Linked DNA regions of Homo sapiens: all the other regions are linked to region 2. Evidence: promoter capture Hi-C in human tissues and cell types (Jung and others, 2019). All regions are on one chromosome and are shown on one strand. Each heading gives the region's core, a stretch centred on a gene start or on the middle of the fragment in contact. The rest is flanking DNA. Distances are from core to core; before and after follow the strand shown.

Region 1 (3,877 bases), core at 605-3,104, 33 kb after region 2:
CAGGGAAGGTAGAAATAAAACTTATTAAAAACATGGAAACCAATGTTCACAGGGATTAAGTGATTTACCCCAGGTTGTGGGCAAAGGATCTGAGCAAACATTTCTCAAAAGAAGACACCAAAATGGCCAACTGGCTTATGGAAGAATGCTCAACACCTCTAATCATCAGGGAAACGCAAATTAAAACCACAATGAGGTGCCACCTCATACCTGTTAGAATGGTTACTACCAAAGAGAATGATAACAAGCCTTGGCAAGAATGCAGGGAATAGAGAACCCTATACACTATTAGTGGGAATGTAAATTAAGGCAGCTGTTTTGGAAAGTCGTGTGGCAGTTCCTCACAAAACTAGCAATAGAACTAACGTGATTCAGCAATCCCACTTCTGGGTATGTATCTAAAGAAAATTGAAATCAGGATGTTGAAAAGATGTATGTAGTCTCATGTTCATTTCAGCATCACTCACAATAACCAAGATATGAAAGCAACCTAACCAATGGATAAAGAAAATGTGGTATATAGACACAATGGAGTACTATACAGCCCTTAGAAGAAGGAAAATTCTGCCATTCTCAACAAGGGTAGAACTGGAGAGCACTATGCTAACTGAAATAAGCCAGGCACAGAAAGATGAATACTGTATGATCTCACTTATATGTGGAATCTGAAAAAGTCAATCTCAGAAACACAGTAGAAAGTTGTTTACCAGAGGCTGGGGCTTGGGGGCAAGGAATGAGGAAAAAGAAGATGTTGATCAATGGGTACAAAGTCTCAGTTAGACTGAAAGAATAAGTTTTAGTGATCTACTGCATGGCTTGGTGACCACAGTTTAAAATAATGTATTGTATATTTCAAAATTGCTAAAAGAATAGATTTTTAATGTCTTCACCACAGTTACCTTTCTTTTTTCCATGTACATAGAAAAGAAAGGTAACTATGTAAGGTAATAAACATGTGAATTAGCTGATTGAATCTTTCTACAATGTATACATAGATCAAAACTTCACATTGTATCCCAATAGATTCCCCATAAGTGATTGTCTATTTTTTAAAAAACATCTACACACGCACAAAGAAAATGCTTCCAAAAGCAAATAGGAGGGCATTGCTCTCATGTCTTTTGTCTCCTGGTGGCAAAGACAACCATCACTGAACCTCCCAACAGAAATACCCAGTCTCCTTGTTACATCCATTCTGACAGCTTCATTAGTCACATAGGGGCTCTGACAATCCACAGGCCAAGTTCTGCCTGGAATTATTTGCCCATAGTTCTAGCTGAAGTGACAGAAACAGTTTAATCTCAAAGTAGGTGGGATTGCCATCCATATTTTGGTGCCAGAGACCTTACCATGTGCTTCCTCAGCCCTGCCCTGTCACCCACATCATGTCTGCAGAGCTGGAGTTTCCCAGTGAAGCTTATGGTCCCTAGGGTAATAGAGTCGCTGATGTCTTTGTCACATTAAGGGTGCCACACAGAGCACTTATGAAGGGCCATGGGTATCGGAATGAGAACACTCAGAACATCCACAAACGCTTCCTCCCTGACTGCCTCCTGTGCTTTCTCCCCTCTTTCCTATTCCCCTAATTTGCCTTCACCCTTGCTCCTATGTCTGTTTCTCTCTGTCTTCACACTTGTATCTTATGATGACCTCTTTCACTTACAAGAATTCATAAACGTGGCTCATTTGCACCCACATAATTGAAACTGTACTCCACCAGAAAGCGCTGGTCTGAACTCAGGGAGGACGGACTGTGGGCATTCCCTGGCTTTTCCACATAAATTCTAAGACATTCTTGCAGCATATGAAGCAAGAGGTGAAAAAGGTGGGGGAAAATATTTAATGAAAACAAATGTGCCCACTGCGATAACTTGCTCTTGAGTCTCTAATCTAAAAAGAGAGCATGCAAGTGGAATTACAGCCCACTAAAGAAAGGATCCAAATGGACTAAATATTCTTCATCTTTGCCCTCCAGTTACTCCAGAAGCATGTTGTAAGGATTAATGAGGGAATAACTGGAAGCTCTTTGAACTGCTTCGTGATAGTTCCTTCCTAATAAGATGACCCAATTACCAGCCTTATTTTCAATATTGCAACTATGTAGGAAAGCTAAATTCTTATGGTATTCCTTAAGGAAGGATAACCTTCATAAAATGCTACTATAACAGCAGCCAGAGCCAGACAGGTATTACACAACCATAAGACAGGCTATAAATAGCTGTACCTCTCTCTTGCTACCCTCTTCACCCTCTTTCTTCTCAGTATCTTGGCCTCTTTTCTGATCTTTTCTCTTCTTTCTTAAGATTTCTATTACTTTCATCCCGGCCTGTCTGTTTCTGTCTTGCTCTTCCTCTCTGTCTGTCTCTCATGCATACATACACACTGTCCTGTGGATGCACGTCTAGGTGTTAGTGGCAGCAAATGTACTGGAGTCCCACAGCACCAAAGTATGTTAGCAGCAGTGAATCCACATGGATCTACAGCAGCCTCAATTCTTGCCTCCTCATAAGGCAGGAGAGACTGGGGCAAGTTTTAGAGCAGGAGTGAAAGTTTATTCAAAAGCTTTAGAACAGGAATGAAAGGAAAGAAAATACACTTGGAAAAGGGCCAAGTGGGTAACTTGAAAGACAAGTGTACAGTTTGACTTTGACTTAGGGTTTTTGTTCGTTTTTTTGAGACAGACTCTTGCTCTGTCACCCAGGCTGGAGAGAAGTGGCGCGATCTCAGCTTACTGCAACCTCCACTTCCCAGGTTCAAGTGATTCTCCTGCCTCAGCCTCTCCAGTAGCTGGGATTACAGGCACTTGCCACAACACACGGCTAATTTTTGTATTTTTAATGGAGATGAGGTTTCACCATGTTGACCAGGCTGGTCTCAAACTCCTTACCTCAAATAATCCATCTGAAAGTGCTGAGATGACAGGCATGAGCCACCGCACCTGACTGACTTCAGGTTTTACCTGTTGGCATACTTCTGGGGTCTTGCGTCCCTACTCCTGTGATTCTTCCCTTAAGTGGTGTGTCTGCGTGTGCAGTGGCCTGCTAGCGCTTAGAAGCGGAGCATGCACAGTGCGTTTACTAGTGTTGTACTCGTGACCACTTGATGCATTTTTTCCTTACCAGTTGAGTGTCCCTGGAGGAAGGCCACATACTGGTTAAATTCCGCCATTTTGGCTCTTAGTGCGCATGCCTGAGCCCACTCACCCAACTGCTGAGGTTTTATTGGGAAGCTGCTGATCACCAGTTTCAGGTATTTCTGTTTATTGGGAGACTGCCCTTCCCTAGCACTGGCTGGGACCAATTATTATTTTAGAAGGACAGTTTAACAATGACCGTCACCTGATGGTCGCCTGCCATTCCTGGTGTGTGCGTAGTGGGGGAAGCCCTCTCCTCCCCTACTCATGCCTGACTAGGTACCTACTGTAGCATAGGTATTTACTCATTTGTTAGAGAAGTAATGGGAGTTACCCTTGGGAGGTGGGTCTGACCGTTTTTGTGTCTGTTCATGAGCATTTCTTTAGCCTTCAGGAAGCTGGGGCTGGATGTGCTAAATGTGCTGCCCATCTCTGGCTAAAGCCTAGCTTAGCCATTGGGATGCTCCTTCTCTGCACTGTTGGAGGTTTTGCTTTGGCTTCTTCAACTTCCTTGTCTATTTCCTTTCCAATTCTGTTTACAAATCTCTATAACATCTTGTCCCATGTCTGGTTCAGTGAATTTGTGATGCAGAAACCTCTGCTGTGTCCAGCAGTTTGTGACACCCCAGAGGGGGTTTAAGAGGAATGAAAGACCCCATCTCTGTCTTTTTTCTTTTTGAGTTGGAGTCTCGCTCTGGTGCCCATGCCGGAGTGCAGTGGCGTGATCTCAGCTCACTGCAACCT
Region 2 (3,900 bases), core at 908-3,407:
TTTCAGCTTGCAATTTATCCAAAAAGCAAAGAGAAGTAGCCATATAAGGGCTTTGTGCAAATAATTTGATTTCGGATTTTAGCCCTGAAATGCTCATTCTGACTGCACTGTAGAGAATGGACTGGAAAGGGGTACATACACGGGTAGATTCAAGGGCTGTTTAAGAGGTAGGATAGAAAATATTTGCTCAAGGATCGGATTTGATGATTGAGGGAGAGAAACAAGGAAGCCTCAAGAATGATGCCCATGTGTCTGGTGTACCACCTGCGTGCAAAGTGATGGTATTCATTGAGGTAGGGAACTCCTGAGATGCACCAGGTTTTCCAGGAAAGTGATACATCTCATGTTAGACATGATGAGCGTGTGTTGTCACTGGGATGTGACAAATGAGGATAGCCAGTAGGCACTTAGATACGGGAATCTGCAATTCTGGAAAAGATCTTGGCTAAAGACCCAGATTTGGGAGGTGTCAGGATATAGATGGAATTTGAAAACTATGGGAGTTCCTCAGACAATCAAGGAATATTGCGCTGCACTGGAGGAAACCACAGAGTGTTCAATGTCAAGGAGGCCTAGGAAAAATACCTTCAAAGACAGAGTTCAATGCTTCCAAAAGGTCAGGTAAATAAGAACTGAATCCTGTCTTTTGGCCTGAGCACAGGCCTTGGAGACCGTGACCTCCACTTTCAGTAGAATGATGAGGCGGAAGCCAGATGGCAGATACTTAGTGATGAAGGGGAGGAGAGGAGGAGTAACAGCAGGAGTGGGGACATAGGTTGGGGGAGGTTTTTAAAAAAATACTGAAGAGACCTGAAATTGCATGAATGCTGAGAAGACCCACTATTAGCAAGCAGGAGCTTGAAGCTGCAAGAGGAAGAGTACGTAAGAGTCACAGCAAAGCCCCGGAGAACAAGGCAACGCAGAAGCCTGGTTTGGAGATGCAGAGGGAGGAGGGACCTTTCCAACTTCAGTAACAAGAAGAAAGAGGAAAAGATAGATAAGGTTGCAGGCAGGTTCATAGATTGGTAGCAGAAAATTGAGAGAATTTCTAACCAATGGCATCTTTTTTTTTCTTCTTTATAACATTGGGAGATTGAGTGGCAGGGTCAGAAATTTGAAGACAGTAAAGAAGGTTAGAAATAGCCATGTTTGACTGGGTGCGGTGGCTCACGCCTGTAATCCCAACACTTTGGGAAGCCAAGGAGGGTGGATCACCTGAGGTCAGAAGTTCGAGACCAGCCTGGCCAACATGGTAAAGCCCCATCTCTACTAAAAATACAAAAATTAGGCGGGCATGGTGGCATGCACCTGTAGTTCCAGCTACTTGGGAGGCTGAGGCAGAAGAATCACTTGAACCCGGGAGGTGGAGGTTGCACTCCAGCCTTTGCAACAGAGCAAGACTTCATCTGAAAGATAGAAAGATGAAAGAAAGAAAGAAAGAAAGAGTAAAAGAAAAAAATTAAAATTTTAGGGGGAAAATTTTCTAATTTTTGAACATGCACTAAAATGATTTTCAGAGAAAACCAAGTGTTATTTTCTAATCTGCATGGCATTATTAAAGATGTTTACTCATCTTCCTTGGGGCTAGGCATCCCATTCCTGCAGGAAGTCTTGTGGTTAGGCGGTGGCTGTGGCTCTGGGATGATTCAGGAATGCAGACCATGCCTTATTTGCACAGGAGGGACACGTTGCTCTCACTGCATGCATGGTCACAACTGTCTGTGTGACCTGTCTGTGGGAGGGCAGACCCCCCTCCTGCCAAGCCACAGTAGCAGCTGACCTGCCAGGCAAAAGCATTCCTTTGTAAAGGAAACCCTCCCAGACCCTCTGACCAAAGGGGACGGGTGGGGACTTCCTGGCACTGCAGGGCCCCTTGCCTGGTACTCCCAGCAACTGGTTGCGGTGGGGAGGGCAGATCTAGGGATGGGGATGGGGAGGAGAAGTGGGAATGGGAAATTGGGAGTCAGAGGGGCAAGTGGGAGAGAAGGGCGCACCTGCCGGGATAACAGGCCAGATGAAGTAAATAGAAAATCCTCTGAGCTCCCCTACTGGCTCCAGCTGTGGAGAAGGGGGAGGAGAAAACCCTGTGGGACAGGGGAGGAGGGTGAGGGCTCCTCTTAGGAAGTTATTTAAGAGCCAACTGTCTTGTCTTTCCCGAGTCCGTTTGAGGAAGTCCCCGAGGCGCACAGAGCAAGCCCACGCGAGGGCACCTCTGGAGGGGAGCGCCTGCAGGTAAGCCACCGACCCTGCACCCTATGAGCCAGGGCCCGCTGCGTCCACCTTCTGCACCTCGGTTTCCTGGTTGAACCAGCAAGCGGCTTGCTCTGGGCCCTGTGGCGCCGGTCACAGGCAGCTCCACTTGCCCAATCCTGGCTTCCCGCCCCCAACTCCGCACCTGCCCAGCCCAGCTTCTAAGCGGGACTTCTCTCAGGCTCTCGAGGCAGCTCTCCCGAAGCCGTTGCTTGCTTAGAATGCCACCAAATGGGGATGGGGGAGTTGGAGGTGCTTCCCCAAGGGACGAGCCCCCTTTCCTCAGGGAGCAGATTATGGAGCTGGAACACAAAAGGTGGAGGGAGTGGGGCCAAGTGAGAACAGCCTGCTAGACTGGAACCCCGCCGGCTTGGCTCCCCACTCCTGCGCGCCTCCCCACTCCTGCGCATCGCCTGCCTCCGTCCCAATTTGGAGCTGAACTCGAGCCACTTCTCCTCCTTAGACCCGCCCAGAAGCGAGGGCTCCTGCCCGCCGCACTCACCCAGCCAGGCGTGCACCTGGGGCTCCCCCCTTCTCCCCCTTAGCACTGTGTCTCCCGACAGCGCGCCACACTGTTCTGCACCCCTGGCAATGCCGCAGCCTACCTTCGGTATTTCTCACTAGAGGATGGCTCTCGCAGCCTTCTCCCTATCATTAACCCTTTTTCGCTCTTCTCCCTCCCTTCCCCCGTCAGCTCACCAATGACTGTAAATATATTTATCTATACTTATGGATACCCATTCACACCTTATGCATCCAAACACTCCTGTCTCCTTCTCAGACCAGACACCTTAGGCGTGGTTGTCTTTTCTCCAGCATGTTGTTAGTGCTCCACATGTCTCTGGAACCATCTCTCTACTCTGGTGGCCTCTATAATGGGGACTCTTCACCTCTTGGGGGTGTGCCTGGTTTTTGAAAATAGCCAAGTCTCCAGGAGTCATGACTGGGTAATCCAGGGGATCAAGGGGGAACCTTCACTGGGCCCAGAAACAAAGTCCCCCTTCATTTGGTCATTTGGTCAACAAGTACTTACTGGGCACTGACCGTCAGGTGTGTGTTGTTTAAACTGGCTCAGTGCCTGCACAAGCTCCAAGGGAAGGGGAAGCAGGCTTGGGGAATGGGAAATGTTGGCAACCCTGACTTCTTAAGCCTATTGATAGCCCTATTGAAAATTGCATGCCCAACCTCTCCACCTCCTTATCCTCCTCCATGTGGCTCAATTTCCAAAGCAGTTCCTACCTCCTCACCCCTAAGTGGATTTACTTATGGCTCTTCTTGGGCTCCACCCTAACCCTATCAGACTATAATCTATCAGAGCAAACATTCTGTTTTGTTCTCTGATGTATCCCATGTACCTAGATCACAGCCTGGCATGTCATAGGCCCTCAATAAATATTGGTTGAATTAAATTGCAAATGTAAACGCTTTAGAAGACAACATTTGTCTGGACATGGTTGTGTGCGTTTATTCTTAAAAGTGACTTATAATCTCATAAATCTGTATGAAATGAACATAGATACAGCACATGCATATAACAGGAAACATTTCTTGCGAAGATGCTGCTGTAGGATTATGGAGGGTGGGGGAATCTGGGTCTCCAAAAATCTTTTAATTTTTAAATTTCTTTGAATAAGCCCCTTTTCTTCTGCT
Region 3 (3,611 bases), core at 677-3,176, 50 kb after region 2:
CCTTGCTAGTTTTCAGATGCAGTTGATTTAAAAAGGTTGTGACCCTGGCTCTCCTACGTTCGTTTCCCTAACGATATGGCCAGAAGTCTTCTTATTACTAAGTATAGCATATGAGGGGCACAGACTGCAGCCACTGGACTTACAGATGACATGCCCAAAAGAGGAGAGAAGTGGGAGTGTCCTGAGTTATCAGCTTCTTTATTTTGGAGCACGAGAGGGAGCAGTGATTGATAGATGTGTCTACTCAGTCACTGATACCAACCCTCCTTGATGGCAAGTATGTTCTTCCAGGTCCTAGGCATGAGAGAGGTGGAGTCAGAACAGTTCTATTAGGAACAATATTCAACCATACTGACCATACCATGTGCTATTTGATGTCCTTTCTAGACTACCTGGGAACCTAATCACCACCTAGGACATTGTATTTTTAATGTAAAAATATTTCAAAGCCATCAACTAACCCAAAAGATTAATTTTTTAAAAGGCAATGAATTCTTCTAGTGGGCACTACCAATGCAGGGCTTTGCGTGCAGTGGGCTCTCTGGTCTGTGGAATGCATTGAAAGGTTGAGAGGACATTTTCCCCAGGGTCACATAGCACTGAATTTGAGCTGTGGCTAGATTTCTCTTTCCTATCTTGTGAAGAATACTAATATCAAGAAACTGTGCACAAAGCTCAATCAAGCCTAGGTAGCTAAGGTTGGAAAAGAGTAACATCACAAATGGAATTAAAGATTTTCATCTTCTTCCTCCTACATCCCAGCTGGGGGGATTAAGGTAGGTCTGTGTAAGGAGAGTGAGGCCCTCAGTAAAGGGACAATGAGACATTCGAATATAGGCATATGGTCCAAGCGGCTTTTGCCTTAAAAACATTAGTTTTGTGGCCTCAATAATAATTCACAAATGGAAGCAAGCACTGAAACTAAGAGCATATGTTAATTTCTAGATCACTTGGGAAGATGGCACTAGTTTTTGATAAGTGTGAAAAAATGCAATTGGTAATTATAATATTTCCTCATGTTTAGTAGTCCAATTTCAAAGGCTGCAATTATTAAAAACAAAACGGGATTCCTTTCTTGGATGCTGTCTTTCCCGATGTCTTTTTCTTGCCCTGATGTTTTTAACGCAAAGTTGCATGATTTGGGGGAGAAAAACACATCTATCCAGGCATTATATACTCTAGGCAAACACGTGCATGGAGGTTCCCTGTATGGAGCCATGTTTTCCATCCAGATTGGGCCAAGGATAGCTGATGGGCAGTCATGGATGTTGATGGATGGGTTTTCCCAGGGTAGCTGGATTGTGGTCTCGTAACCATGCCGACTCCTGGGGCTGAGAAGGGCTATTTAGTGAAATGAAATACTACTCTGTCACAACTTCCTCACTCACAATTCAATCATGGAGAGTACTTCCCCAGTGCTGTCACTGAAATCATTACATTCAGAATTAAACATGGGTGTAATAGAGCAGTCCCTGAGGTTCTATTGGCACATCAGGTTCCACATTCCTAACCAGCTTTCCCATACAGGAATATGAAAAGCCTGCCAATCAGGATTCTTTTTCCTTCCTTTGGAATTAATCTCACCACTCCCTGTCCCTGATAACGCTTCCATAACCTGTTCCCGGGCCACGTGGCATCAGCGTATCAGCAGGATTGCTCAGCCTTCACCCTTTGGTGTCTGACATTACTTTGGAAGTCTTCCCAATGCAAATCACAAAAAAATGAGTTGGCCCAGAGAGACCCTCATGCAGGTTCTCTCCACCTGGTCTTCCTTCTCTTCACTCACTCAGTTGTTACCTCCTTTGATCCACATTTCTGGCTCACACAACTCTTATCCACGGCAGCATATTTTCTCAATGTCCCTTTTCCTCATATTCCTTTGGACTTTCCAGTTTTATTCTTCTCTTGTCTCCTTTCATCTCCCTAGATCCCTTTTGCCATTCTCCACCTTCCTCCACAGAGGAAGCATGACATGGAGCAAAGAGAACAGGCTTCCCTGTCCCCAGTTCTGTCTCCACTTCTGCCTAGCTATGTGATGTGCACACATGACGCCCTCACCAAGCCTCAGTTTCCCATCTGTAAAAATTTCCTCACAGAGGTTTTGTAAGGACCCCAAGAAATAAAACTTATTTCCTGTCACTTTATTTGCATCACTATGTGAACTGCCTTGGCAACTCTAAACAACTTTTGCAATCTTAAAATTGAATATTTTAGCCATGAATCATAAAATCAATAAAAAGCTACAAACTTCCTATGTTTTCAACACCCCCTGAGACTGTGGGGAATTTAGGCGACTTTAAGGAAACTAAAGGTTGACCTACTAGTAGTACAGATGTTTGCGAATAGTTTAGAAACATATTTCTCCTTGGAAGGAGAAGCTAGGTGATGGTATTTTCTTCTTAGGCTCAAGTGTTAGACTTCAAGAGTCTGTAATAAATCGCTCCTTAAATAAATAAAATGTGAAATCCTCTAAGGCAGATGTTGGCAATTGTTTACTGTAAGGGCCAGCTACTGTGTTAGGCGTTGCAGACCATAGGGACTCTGTCACAACTACTCAACTCTGCTCTTACAAGAGTAGGGTTGTATTGTAGCACAATAATACACAAGCAAATCAACATAACTGTGTTCCAATTAAACTTTATATAAACAGTAGGTAGGCTGGGCGCAGTGGCTCATGCCTGTAATCCCAGCACTTTGGGAGGCCTAGGCGGGCAGATCATGAGGTCAGGAGATCAAGACCATCCTGGCTAACAAGGTGAAACCCCGTCTCTACTAAAAATACAAAAATTAGCCGGGCGTGATGGTGGGCGCCTGTAATCCCAGCTACTAGGGAGGCTGAGGCAGGAGAATGGCATGAACCCAGGAGGCAGAGCTTGCAGTGAGCCAAGATTGCACCACTGCACTCCAGCCTGGGCAACAGTGCAAGACTCCATCTCAAAACAAAACAAAATAAAACAAACAAAAAAAAAAACAGTAGGTAAGCTACATTTGGCCCGCAGACTATAGTTTTCTAACCATTGCTCTAAAGGATGAATGGAGATTACATTGATCATTAACAACTCAGAAAATCAGAAATTATGATTGAATGGGAGGTTTCAGGTGACTCCATGATGATTCTGGAATTATTAAGGCTTTTGGTTACTAATAAATGGCAACCCTTTTTTTTTTCTTTTTTTACTTCTACAAGTTCTCCTGATGGAAAAATCAGTCAGCTCAAGGTTTTTTAGTTTGGGATGAATTGGCCTTTGAAATAGATTTGGGCTTTGATAGGTTTGTTGGCAATTGGTAAACCCATCCTAATTTCCCACAGATGGAGCAGAGAAGGATCACTTAGAGGAATCAGAAAGCCCAGGACAACAGGGAAGTAATGATAACTACCAATTATTAAGCTGCCCTCCCCATCACAAACTATGACCACCATGATCTCCATTTTGTAGAAGAAGCAAAGTTTTAGTTGACAGGGGATGAGTGCTTTGCCCGAGATCACACAGAAGTGTTAGAGCCAGCTGAATTGCTTTCCCCTTAGCCACAATATCTCAATCAACACAAGTAACGTACTTTCCTTGGGACATTCACCTTTCTTCAGATTCAGAACCAGAGAGCAAAAAAGA

The links. The method cuts DNA at HindIII sites, captures the fragments that hold promoters and counts their contacts. A contact is called where the count stands out against the background at its distance.
Region 1: a contact is called between a fragment that was not itself captured here and the fragment with the promoter of F13A1 in region 2, in 1 of the 25 tissues and cell types used here (pancreas).
Region 3: a fragment that was not itself captured here is called in contact with the fragment with the promoter of F13A1 in region 2 in 2 of the 25 tissues and cell types used here (aorta and stomach).

The regions. Positions count from the first base shown.
Region 1 is chr6:6,285,183-6,289,059 of GRCh38, reverse strand. All of the region lies in intron 3 of F13A1 (coagulation factor XIII A chain), which reads left to right. It overlaps LOC124901253 (a long non-coding RNA gene), which reads right to left and starts at 3,173. Exons shown (of 2, transcript XR_007059428.1): 1 at 3,120-3,173. The HindIII fragment of the contact is 5,107 bases long and covers 1-3,877 here.
Region 2 is chr6:6,318,919-6,322,818 of GRCh38, reverse strand. F13A1 (coagulation factor XIII A chain) reads left to right here and starts at 2,157. Exons shown (of 15, transcript NM_000129.4): 1 at 2,157-2,232. The region is part of intron 1 of LOC124901253 (a long non-coding RNA gene); the gene reads right to left. The HindIII fragment of the contact is 8,313 bases long and covers 1-3,900 here.
Region 3 is chr6:6,269,057-6,272,667 of GRCh38, reverse strand. All of the region lies in intron 3 of F13A1 (coagulation factor XIII A chain), which reads left to right. Among named protein-coding and RNA genes, the nearest start is that of F13A1, 50 kb to the left of the region's middle. The HindIII fragment of the contact is 4,937 bases long and covers 1-3,611 here.